Linked DNA regions of Homo sapiens: regions 1 and 2 are each linked to region 3. The links are contacts of gene promoters, found by promoter capture Hi-C in blood cells and fetal thymus (Javierre and others, 2016). All regions are on one chromosome and are shown on one strand. The core of a region is centred on a gene start or on the middle of the fragment in contact, and the rest is flanking DNA. Distances in the headings are between cores, read along the strand shown.

Evidence for each region. Contacts are between HindIII fragments. The CHiCAGO score rates a contact against its expected background, and 5 or more counts as called.
Region 1: a fragment that was not itself captured here is called in contact with the fragment with the promoter of BMAL1 in region 3 in 1 of 17 cell types (total CD8 T cells); the score reaches 5.4 in total CD8 T cells.
Region 2: a contact is called between a fragment that was not itself captured here and the fragment with the promoter of BMAL1 in region 3, in 1 of 17 cell types (fetal thymus). The highest score is 7.2, in fetal thymus.

What each region holds. Positions count from the first base shown.
Region 1 is chr11:10,803,221-10,806,189 of GRCh38, reverse strand. It overlaps EIF4G2 (eukaryotic translation initiation factor 4 gamma 2), which reads left to right. Exons shown (of 22, transcript NM_001418.4): 4 at 143-283; 5 at 1,175-1,277; 6 at 1,772-1,903; 7 at 1,987-2,053; 8 at 2,140-2,291; 9 at 2,600-2,710; 10 at 2,896-2,969. Among named protein-coding and RNA genes, the nearest start is that of SNORD97, 3.1 kb to the right of the region's middle. The HindIII fragment of the contact is 1,059 bases long and covers 1,190-2,248 here.
Region 2 is chr11:10,852,903-10,857,206 of GRCh38, reverse strand. ZBED5 (zinc finger BED-type containing 5) reads left to right here. Exons shown (of 3, transcript NM_001143667.2): 2 at 950-1,063; 3 at 2,121-4,304. The coding sequence starts at 2,262. Among named protein-coding and RNA genes, the nearest start is that of ZBED5, 3.0 kb to the left of the region's middle. The HindIII fragment of the contact is 2,687 bases long and covers 21-2,707 here.
Region 3 is chr11:13,276,540-13,280,850 of GRCh38, reverse strand. BMAL1 (basic helix-loop-helix ARNT like 1) reads right to left here and starts at 3,061. Exons shown (of 20, transcript NM_001297719.2): 1 at 2,928-3,061. RefSeq lists silencers at 2,051-2,390, 2,671-2,740, 2,811-3,460. The HindIII fragment of the contact is 3,232 bases long and covers 1,601-4,311 here.

The sequences.
Region 1 (2,969 bases), core at 470-2,969, 2.5 Mb after region 3:
CCAGAAGCACTAATTTCCAGAGTTGGCTTTCTTGGAGGGGAAGTCGAGAAAGCCTAAATTACTTTTTTCTATGTAAGAGAATTTATGATGTTTAACATTTGGTGTGTGACAATAAGTGTTTTTGCTGATTTTTATTAATCAGCGAGTTCCTGGGGAAAACCCCAGGGCAAAACGCTCAGAAATGGATTCCTGCACGAAGCACTAGACGAGATGACAACTCCGCAGCAAACAACTCCGCAAACGAAAAAGAACGACATGATGCAATCTTCAGGAAAGTAAGAGGGTAAGTTTCAAGGTCTGTTTTACTAAAAGATGGGAAGTGTGGATTAGCTGTGTTTGGTGTGTGTGCTGTATTACTAAGAAGGCAAGGTTCATGCCCAGAGTATGTATGTTTTAATGAATCCTCATGGTAGCAATTTTTAAAAATATCTTGAACTGGCCAGGCACTGTGGCTCACGCCTGTAATCCCAGCACTTTGGGAGGCCGAGGTGGGCAGATCACTTGAGGTCAGGAGTTTGAGACCAGCCTGGCCAACATGTTGAAACCCCATCTCTACTAAAAATACAAAAATTAGCCGGACGTAGTGGCAGGCGCCTGTAGTCCCAGCTACTAGAGAGGCTGAGGCAGGAGAATCACTTGAATACCCCACAGGTGGAGGTTGCAGTGAGCCGAGATCACGCCACTGCACTCCAGCCTGGGTGCAGAGCAAGACTGTGTCTCAAAAAAAAAAAATGTATCTTGAACTGAAGAACAGCACGTCATATTTTGGGGCTTCCCGTTGCTTTCAGCCATTGGATTGCAATCCATAATCCTGTCATGCTAGCATTTCCCTTGACTAAGGGAAGTGCTATGTTATTTAAGCCAGTGAGGCAGGGAATATAATGGTCTTAGTTCATGGTCTAGCCTTGATAATGAGATCTTTGCGCTCTAACCTTGAGAAAGTGAGAAAGGATTCTTGTCAAACAGCTGGGGACCCCCCAGTCCAATTCAAATCATTGTAATTAAAATAACAGGTTTATTTCAGCATCCCTTTGGTTTTAGATGAGTAAGAAAACATGTCTTGATTTTTTAAAGGGAGCAAGTTAGAAGAAAAATCAGTATAATTTAAAAGCAGTTTTTCAATTCAAATTCTGTGTATTAGCTAACACTTAAAATGTAATTCCTTTTTCTCCAGCATACTAAATAAGCTTACTCCTGAAAAGTTTGACAAGCTATGCCTTGAGCTCCTCAATGTGGGTGTAGAGTCTAAACTCATCCTTAAAGGGGTCATACTGCTGGTAAGTTTTAAATATTGGCTTAACTCAAAAGGGAGAGGGAACTGTTTAACAAACTCAAGTTGTGTTTTTTTACACTTGGATTACTACTTAAAACCCTTAGGTGTGAGTTAGATAGGTATGTATTTTTGAATACTGATGGTGATTAAAAAGAACCACTGACTTTAGTAGCATTAGATTGAAGAGGTAAATGTTAAGTTCATGGTATGGTTGAAGAGGTAAATGGGAGTGCTTAGCAAGCTGTTCTTTTTCTTTTGTGGAAAACACCGTATTTAGGTCTTGGAAATGCATTGTATGACAGTTTATGTAGACTTGAAAGTTTTGATATCCATGGCATTTTCTGACTCCCAGGAGATGGATGTGACTAGATGAAATCTGTATAACTGGACATTTTTGGTAGACTGTAATAGCTAACATTTAGGTGGTTGTATTTTTCCTAAAGGAAGGGTTCTTGGAGAAGTTTTCATATTTAGTTTAAGCAATGACATTTTCTGTAGATTGTGGACAAAGCCCTAGAAGAGCCAAAGTATAGCTCACTGTATGCTCAGCTATGTCTGCGATTGGCAGAAGATGCACCAAACTTTGATGGCCCAGCAGCAGAGGGTCAACCAGGACAGAAGCAAAGCACCGTAAGTGGTAGTTTTTGTTTGCTTGTTTTAAAGTTGACTTGAAAAATTTCCTTAATAAAGCATGACAATGTCTTCTTTTCCAGACATTCAGACGCCTCCTAATTTCCAAATTACAAGATGAATTTGAAAACCGAACTAGAAATGTTGATGGTAAGACTTATAGCTGATAATAAGTACTACTGTATATTTTCAGCTTAATTCTGAATGTTGGCTTACTTCATTGGTATCTTTTTCAGTCTATGATAAGCGTGAAAATCCCCTCCTCCCCGAGGAGGAGGAACAGAGAGCCATTGCTAAGATCAAGATGTTGGGAAACATCAAATTCATTGGAGAGCTTGGCAAGCTTGATCTTATTCACGAATCTATCCTTCATAAGTGCATCAAAACAGTAAGTGTGACAGGGAAGTTAGGCGAATGTAGTCAGTCGTTTGGAGGAAATGAGTCAATTATTCATCTAAGAGGGAGGTTGACTAGTTAAATACAGATGTGCAACAAAATTTACTAAACAGAATAATTTGAAATACGTGGTGTGTTTGACAAAGTAGAGTTAGAACTGATCAACCAGACTGGTAGAAAGCCCTATACTAGATTCTGTAGGAACTGTGAATGAGTCAGTGCAAACATAAAGGGAAAGAAAGTACTACGCCTAAACCAGAGTAACTAAAACTTTGTCACCATGGCCTTTTATTCTTGTAGCTTTTGGAAAAGAAGAAGAGAGTCCAACTCAAAGATATGGGAGAGGATTTGGAGTGCCTCTGTCAGATAATGAGGACAGTGGGACCTAGATTAGACCATGAACGAGCCAAGGTACGTGTGTAGCTGATGAAAGTAGTACAAGTAGTTTGTCTTTAAATCAAGCTATTGATTTTTGTGACATCATAAGGGATTGCCATATTTAGCCATTAACTGGGTTATAATTTTAGAAGTCTTAAAGCTGTAAATTGAACACATTTGCTTTAGCTCTTCCAATGAATGTATTCTTCTCTTATCAGTCCTTAATGGATCAGTACTTTGCCCGAATGTGCTCCTTGATGTTAAGTAAGGAATTGCCAGCAAGGATTCGTTT
Region 2 (4,304 bases), core at 115-2,614, 2.4 Mb after region 3:
TCTTTCTGAAAACAAAAGCTTCCTACTCTTCTGTGTCCTCTGGCAACGAGAGGGATCCTGATCTTTTACGTGAACCAGCAGCTCCACAGAGTTCTCCGTTGCAAAATCCAAAAGGAGACTGTGGAAGGAGAATCTGCTTTTTTGCTCCCAATAAGAAGCAGGGCTTTATGCTGTTGCTAGTATGAGACCCTCGACTTTCTGGCAGTTATAATCCATTGTTCATCCGTTTCGCTGCATAACCCAACTCCTAGTAACGAGATTTTTTAGTAGTTGGGGAATTAAAAGTATTCAGGAACACCCAAGTAATGGCTAGACACATGGGCTATGCAGTCAAACTTTTTGGGCTCTGAACTTGGTTTTTCACTTACAAGAGGTGTTAGCGAGATGTGTTAACCTGTGTCTGTTTATCTCTAAAGTGGGGTTATTAATAATCCTTGTGTCTTCATAGATGAGATAATCTATATGAGGGATTTAGCAGTAATTGGCATACAGTAAACAATCATCAGTCATTAGACATTGTTTACCTGAGGAGATTGGTCACTGGGGGGCTAAAAATGATTGTAGTGAAAGAACTGCTTCATGTAATAGTTCTATGTATAATTCCATTTTAGATTCAAGACCTAGTTTTAGAGACATTGATGAGGTTGTACTTTTAAAAATTAGGCTTAGTTTCAAGTTCTAGAAAGTGTGGTGGTGGTGTTGTTTTAACATGTTTCTATGAAGTCAGTAGGTGGGGGAACATCTCAAAGCATCTAAATTGCCAAGATATTGAACAGGATGAAAATGTTAGAATTTTTACTATGCTAGGCGTCTTCTCTTTCAGTCCAAGATCTGCATTGCAGTAAAGAATCATTTTCACTGCTTAGATCCAGAAAGAATAAACCCATCTTACGGGTTTATAGTTAGTTCTGCTTGTTACTGTATCTAATTTTAATTTTTCTCATTCTAGGCTTTTGGTTACTCCCCTTCCCACCCCATCCCTTAATTTTATTCTTTTGAAGAGTGCATTTCAAGCTGCCAAGGTGGAGAGAGGGATTACAGAAAGGAGAACACCTTATTTCAGGTATCTTATCCTCTACCCCTTAATAGGAGAACCATTTTGACTCAAGATCTAACATGAGAATACAAAACTTACTCTATAGCCAGGTTATAAAGTTTAAATCAAAAGTAGCTATATTTGGACAGACATAATTTGTATGCCTTGATTTATAGAGTTAATAGTATTCTTTAGCAATCCTTAGATTGCATTATCCTTTTAATTTTGATTTGTTTTATTATATGAGAAATAAACCTCTTAAATGAGAGTTTATTTTTTTTTTTTAGGTCCTGGTTAAGTCGTCACCTGTTGTATAAATAGAATGCAGAGTTATCTGTAAAAATATACATTACTTTCATTGAGTCTTAATTTGGATAATATAAACGTTTATATAATTTAAGTCCAGAGAAACAGTACCTAACTTTTGATATACAATTTATTCTTCATTGTTAACGCATAACATTTAGGATACAGTAGAATTATGTATCTCGCAAAACTTGGAACTGTGTGTGTGTTTAATTCACTTCTTCAGAATTGTTGCTAGCCCTGAAGGGACTTCAGATATATAATAGTATCAACAACTAATACATCTAATGACAGTAGGCATCAAAAGCTAAAAGAGATTTCACAATACTACATACCATGAGACAGGGCTGATAAATTATGGCCCATGCTGTCTGGTTTTGTACGTAAAGTTTTATTGGAACACACCTGTGTCCATTCTTTCATGTATTGTCTATGGCTGCTGTCATGTTACAACTACAGAGTTGAGTAGTTGCAACAGAGACTATATGGCCCTTGACCAAAAAAAGCCTGCCAACCCCTGCCATGGGACATATTCTTCAGGGTCCCTTTCTTAAAAATATGTATAACAACTCTTAATAATTTATTGGCTCAGTGATTCCCAAATTATGTTTTATAGAATATTAATATTCTCTAAGTTAATAAATGTTTTGAGAAAATGATTGATGCTAATATTGGTTTTTCTTTATGGTTGATTTTAATATGTTTATTTAAATATGAGATTAAGACTGCTAAACTCATTTCTATAGCTTTTATTTTTATGTGATAATCTACCTTTAAGAAAAGGTGTACCATACCTGAGAGCACCAGGAAGTCGCATGAGAGATCACCTGATACATGAACGTATGATGTTCCATCTGCGCATTGATGAATAGGCAGCATTTACAAATTAACTGATGTGTTGCTGTATATCATCTCTTTGATGATTGCTCCTCTTCTTTGTATCCTGTCTTATAATTTCAACACATTTGCGATACTCAATGTCTATTCTAAATTAACCATGTTTTGTACCACAAACTCATTGCCCATGGATCTGTTGCTGAAACAAGGAAGTCTTAAACAAGAAGTGGAATCTTTCTGTTATCAGATTGTGTCTGAATCAAATGATCAGAAGGTTGGAATATTACAAAGTGAAGATAAGCAGTTGCAACCTTCAGTTTCTAAAAAATCAGAAGGTGAGCTTTCCAGGGTCAAATTTATATCCAATTCCAACAAAATAACATTTAGTAAAAAACCAAAAAGAAGAAAATATGATGAAAGTTATTTGTCTTTTGGATTTACTTACTTCGGAAATAGAGATGCACCTCATGCTCAGTGTGTATTATGTAAGAAAATTTTATCAAATAGCTCTTTAGCCCCTAGTAAGCTTCGAAGACATTTGGAAACTAAACATGCTGCATATAAAGACAAAGACATAAGCTTTTTCAAGCAACATCTCGATTCACCTGAAAATAATAAACCCCCAACACCTAAAATTGTGAATACAGATAATGAAAGTGCTACAGAAGCATCATACAATGTAAGTTACCATATAGCGCTGAGTGGAGAGGCTCATACTATTGGAGAATTGCTTATCAAACCTTGTGCAAAAGATGTAGTGATGCGGATGTTTGATGAACAATATAGTAAAAAAATAGATGCAGTACAGCTATCAAACAGTACTGTTGCACGTCGAATTAAGGATCTAGCTGCTGACATTGAAGAAGAGCTTGTTTGTAGACTGAAAATTTGCGATGGGTTTTCACTGCAACTAGATGAATCAGCTGATGTTTCAGGACTTGCTGTGCTGCTTGTGTTTGTTCGTTATAGGTTTAATAAGTCTATTGAGGAAGACCTACTCCTGTGTGAATCTTTGCAAAGTAATGCTACCGGTGAAGAAATATTCAACTGTATCAACAGTTTTATGCAGAAACATGAAATTGAATGGGAAAAATGTGTTGATGTTTGTAGTGATGCTTCTAGGGCAGTGGATGGGAAAATTGCCGAAGCTGTCACCTTAATAAAATATGTGGCTCCCGAAAGCACCAGTAGTCACTGCCTATTATACAGACATGCACTGGCAGTTAAAATAATGCCTACATCTCTAAAAAATGTGCTAGACCAGGCAGTACAAATCATCAATTATATTAAAGCTCGACCACATCAATCCAGACTATTAAAAATTTTATGTGAGGAAATGGGTGCTCAGCACACAGCACTTCTTCTAAATACAGAGGTGAGGTGGCTTTCTCGAGGTAAAGTTCTTGTAAGACTTTTTGAACTTCGTCGTGAACTTTTGGTTTTCATGGATTCTGCTTTTCGACTATCTGATTGTTTAACAAATTCATCTTGGCTGCTAAGACTTGCATATCTTGCAGATATTTTTACTAAATTAAATGAAGTTAATTTGTCAATGCAAGGAAAAAATGTGACCGTTTTTACAGTATTTGATAAAATGTCGTCATTGTTAAGAAAATTGGAATTTTGGGCCTCATCTGTAGAAGAAGAAAACTTTGATTGTTTTCCTACACTCAGTGATTTTTTGACTGAAATTAATTCTACAGTTGATAAAGATATTTGCAGTGCCATTGTGCAGCACCTAAGGGGTTTGCGCGCTACTCTGTTAAAATACTTTCCTGTAACAAATGACAATAATGCTTGGGTTAGAAATCCATTTACAGTTACTGTTAAACCAGCTTCATTAGTAGCACGGGACTATGAGAGCCTGATTGATTTAACATCTGATTCTCAAGTGAAGCAAAATTTTAGTGAACTTTCACTAAATGATTTTTGGAGTAGCCTAATTCAGGAATACCCAAGCATTGCAAGGCGTGCAGTGCGTGTACTTCTTCCTTTTGCTACAATGCACCTGTGTGAAACGGGGTTTTCATATTACGCTGCAACAAAAACAAAATATAGGAAAAGACTTGATGCTGCACCTCATATGCGAATCCGACTTAGCAATATTACACCTAATATTAAGCGG
Region 3 (4,311 bases), core at 1,812-4,311:
AGATGAGGGGACGATGGGGATAGAGACAGGACATTTTGGGTGGGAAGTAAGAGATGCTGAGGGGGTTGAGTCAGAGCAGGTCTTATTTCATGAGAGGGAGAAGAAAAGACAAGGTGGGTATTTGGGATAAATCTGAGTCTTGTGATAAGGTGACAATGAAAAAAGACTGTGGAGAAGGATAACATGCCTGTGTCCCTAGCTCCCAACGAAACCTCAAGGTCTAGAAAGGATATTTTACTTCCCTGCAAGTACCTACTTTAGTTATCATGATGCTTCCTAAAATCACTGCATGTAATCACGGGGCTGAAACTGTTTATTTAATATTGATTTTCCTACCACAGTGAGAGTTGATGATGAAATCACAAAGAAAGCTCAGATACATTATAACCCTTACACCAAAGAGAGATATTAACTATCTAGTTTTTACCTTTTCATATGCAGTTTTGTTAATACAGCCAAATCTTTCTATGGTGCTTCTCCATCTTTTAGCATATAAATTCCACAGAGATTGTTGGTGTGAAGGGATAAATCTGAAAACATGGCCACTTCCTTTTCCTGCCCTGTGGCATGCAAACCTCTTCTGCAAATAGCAGACAAACTCGTAAGTAGTCATCATTTTATAAATCATTTGAAATGGATTCTTCAAAACACCATCTGTTGATCTGCTTAACTTTCTTATGAAAATAGGGCTTCAGCTCAGATATTCTGGAGGTGCCAGGAGGTAAATACCAACCTGAATTCAAATGTATTAAATATTTAGAGACTTACAGAACTTCAAAAGAGAGGAACCTTTGAGATCACCTAGTTCAACCGTCTTACTTTCCATCAGAGGCAAACACAACCTAGAAATCTTTAATAACTTGCCCCGACTGGAACGGCCATGAGAGCCCAAGCCTAAACTAGAACCAGGATGTCCAGCTCCTAACTCCCAGGTTAGTGCTTTTCTACCAGATCTGTTCGTTCTTCAGAGGGTTGAATAAAGAACAAATTTAACTACAGTTTTAACTTATTGTTATCATTCACTGGCTGCATCTACAATCAAAACCAAAATGCTTCTACAGAACCAGCTTCAGATGATACAGGCAATTTCAAATCCTGTCCAGGAAATTTCCAAACCTTCTAAATATGTTCTATAAGCTGCGTTAAAGACTTATCAGTAAAATGATCTGAGTAACAAAACATGGACTGAAAGACTGAATTTTGTATTTTCAAAAATATTTGGGAATTCCATTGATATGGAAATCAAATATAACACCAGCGAATTTTTTTAAGTCTTGCAAGCAGAGAGAGCATGATATTATTCAAAACTGCTCAGGAGCAGCAATGATTATTTTAAGCTCATGATTCAACGGGTACATTAATTAAAAACTCCACCAACCCAAATTCACAGATCCGGATATCAATGAGACCAGAAGAATTAAAATAATAGTTGTCATTTAATAATAGATTAAAGGGGTGAACAACAGCAGATGTCAGAAGGACAAATGACAAGCAAGCAGGTGTCGTGGGAAATGAATGCATCTAAGGGGCAGCTTTTATGGATGTTTAATAAAACGACGATGCTGGAAATACGGGTATACGGGTAGTGTCAAGAAAAGCTTGTTCACAAATACGGAATCTGATTTTTGGAAGCTGGGTGAGAAAACTTGGCTAATAATTCCTCGCTGAGGAGTAGCGGTGGAAGAAGGAAGAGACCGCAAGCGCCAAAGCGCCAAAACAACGCTAGGTGACCGGGAAGGGGCCGAGGCGGAGAGGGGAGAGGGGTCAGGAGGTGCGGGGTGCGCGGCGGCAGCGGGTCTCTCACCGGCCGGCGAGAACTTGACAGCAGGCGCCGGTGTCCAGCACTCCCCTTCCCTCCCCAGCTCCTGCCGGCGGGCACCTGAGCTCACCCCGCTGCCGGCTCTCGCGACCCCTCGGGGAGGCTAACATGCGCCCCACAAGGTCGACGTTCACCTCTACCTTCCTCGTCTTCTTCCAAGCAAACGGGAAGCTCTCTGGGATGTCAACGCCCGGCAATAGCCGAGCGGGAACCTTTTCTTCCCTGACATCTGTCAAACCCGGAGCTGGAGCCAGGCTCGCTGCGCCCTCCGCGGAGCTCTGGGACTCCAAGGCCGGCCCGCACCCGGGCTCCGGGCGACATCCCCAGGCCGACGCGCACCTGCCCGCAGACCCACGGGGCATCCTTGAGGGCCGCCCAGGACCTGGACGGCACAGGCCCCACGAAAGTTCGCAGGCTGGGGTCGGCCCCGTGCCGGCCGGGGATTCCCGGGTGCAGCGCCAGCCCTGGCTACAGGGCCGAAGGGGCGGGCGGACTTGGACTCCCCAAGCCCGACGGAGACGCCCTCCCCGCCCCCACCCAGCCTCGCGGGCTCCCGAAAGGGAAGTGAAGCGGGGAGGAAGGGCAGACGCGGCACCGTTCGCCCAACGCCCTTGAGGGGCAGCCACCAGGCATGGTCCCCTCGGGGATCCCCGAAGCTCCCGGGGACACATCTAGGAGTCCTCTTCGGCCGAGTCACTGCCCCCAAGGGCAGAGCTATCCCTTTAAGAGGCAGCTAGCTGCCCCCTCCCCCCGCCAGGTAGCGATGCCCGCGGAAGGGCGGTGGGTACTCCAGCGAACACTTTCCCGGCCCCTTTAAGGGCTCCTGCAGCACCTCTGCCTGCCCTAGCCCGCAGCGGCAGCCCCCGCGAGGAGGATGGGGGCGGACGGGCGCGGCGCCTTTAAGGGGCGCAGCCTCCCCACGGCCCGGGTGGGGGCAGGGAGCGGTCACGGGCCCTTTAAGGCCGGCAGCGGGCACGTCGGGCAGGGTTCTTCGGCGGCCGGGTTGCCCCCGGGGCGGCGGCAGGGGCGCAGCGCCCGCGAGGGTGCTAACGGCCCCCGACGGGGTGCGCGGGATCGCGTCGCTGGCCGCCGCCGGCCTGACACTCACCGTGGCTCGCCGGGAGCGCCCGCGCCCGCGCCCGCACTCGGATCCCGCGGCGGCGGCGGCGGTGAGTCCGGCGCGGGTAAACAGGCACCTCCGTCCCTGACCTACTTTCTGCCTTCCCTAAATGTCGCACCACTAACCTACTTTCCGACCAATCCGCTCCCCGCCGGCCCAGGCCCGGCCCCCCGCCCACCAATCGCTGTGCCCAACCCCCCTTCCCCGCCCACCAATGGAGGAGCCGCAGCGCCCGGATACCTGCCTCTTCCCGCCAGCCAATCCGAACGCCCGAAGGGAGCCGGTCCCGGCGGCCGCCCCCAGCCAATCCGCGCGCGGCTCGGCAGCCCGCTGGCCAGTTGTGTGGCGGCTAGAGAGGCCGCTGACCAATGGCGAGGCGGCGGGAGCCGGTTTACCTGCTACTTTCCTGCCACCAATCATTTGGCGCACAGGAGCGCACGCCCCGAGGAGAGGACCAATCCGCGCGCGCTCCCTGGGTTCCTCGCCCCTGCCCTCTCCCTTTCCCCTCAGGTCTCCCACTAGCCGCGGCCACTGCGGTGCCCAAGCCGCGCTCCTCGGGGTCGCCCGGGATGTCCCTCTTCTCTGGGTCCCCTGCCGGCTGGCGTTTGGCCGCCCGCCCTCACCCCTCCTCCTTCTTCTTCTCCCCTCCGGGCATTCCGACGAAAAGCAGCAGTTCCTGACTCCCTCTCTCCCTCCGGCTCCATCTAGGAAACCAATTTTAGGAACGTTGAGTGCCAGACCCTTCCTAAAATCCCTGGTTTGCCAAAGTCTCAACGAGAGAACGGATACTTAGTATTTCTAGAAGGCATTTCCACCCCGAGGACTGCAAGTGTTCTCACGTTCTTTGCGTTCATCATGACCTCCAAGTGTCCCACTGGAGCTGTCATTCCCGTAGTTCCAAAGAGAATACTCGAGCGCGGAGCGATTCCATTGCATTTCCTTCCAGTAGCCAGGTTTTGACCACTTACTGAAGAGTAGACACCAGCCCCGCGGCAGCGCTCTCTGCTGCAAAAAGCTGTCTACGGAGCAAGACGGAAGGAAACAGTTACAGAAAATAAAAATTTGATAACGACATGCGACTCGGTTGCTGAGAGGACAGAGAAAGTGACTTATTTTTGCATCTCAGGCACTTTGTAGAGGGCCTTTAGCACAAAGAACTCCCGGCTCTTCCAGATGTTAAACTCCCTGAATAGAAGGACAGCGTCTTCTTTTTCGTTATCCATCATGTCAGCTCTCCTTTAGCGCCTGCTGGGGTAGGGTGGAGTGGTGGGGGCGGGGCTGGCACCCAACAAGTGCACCATAAATATCTGTTGGCTGGATACATGAACAAATGGAATTAAATAAATTGGCCTAATTCTGTTACCCAGACTGG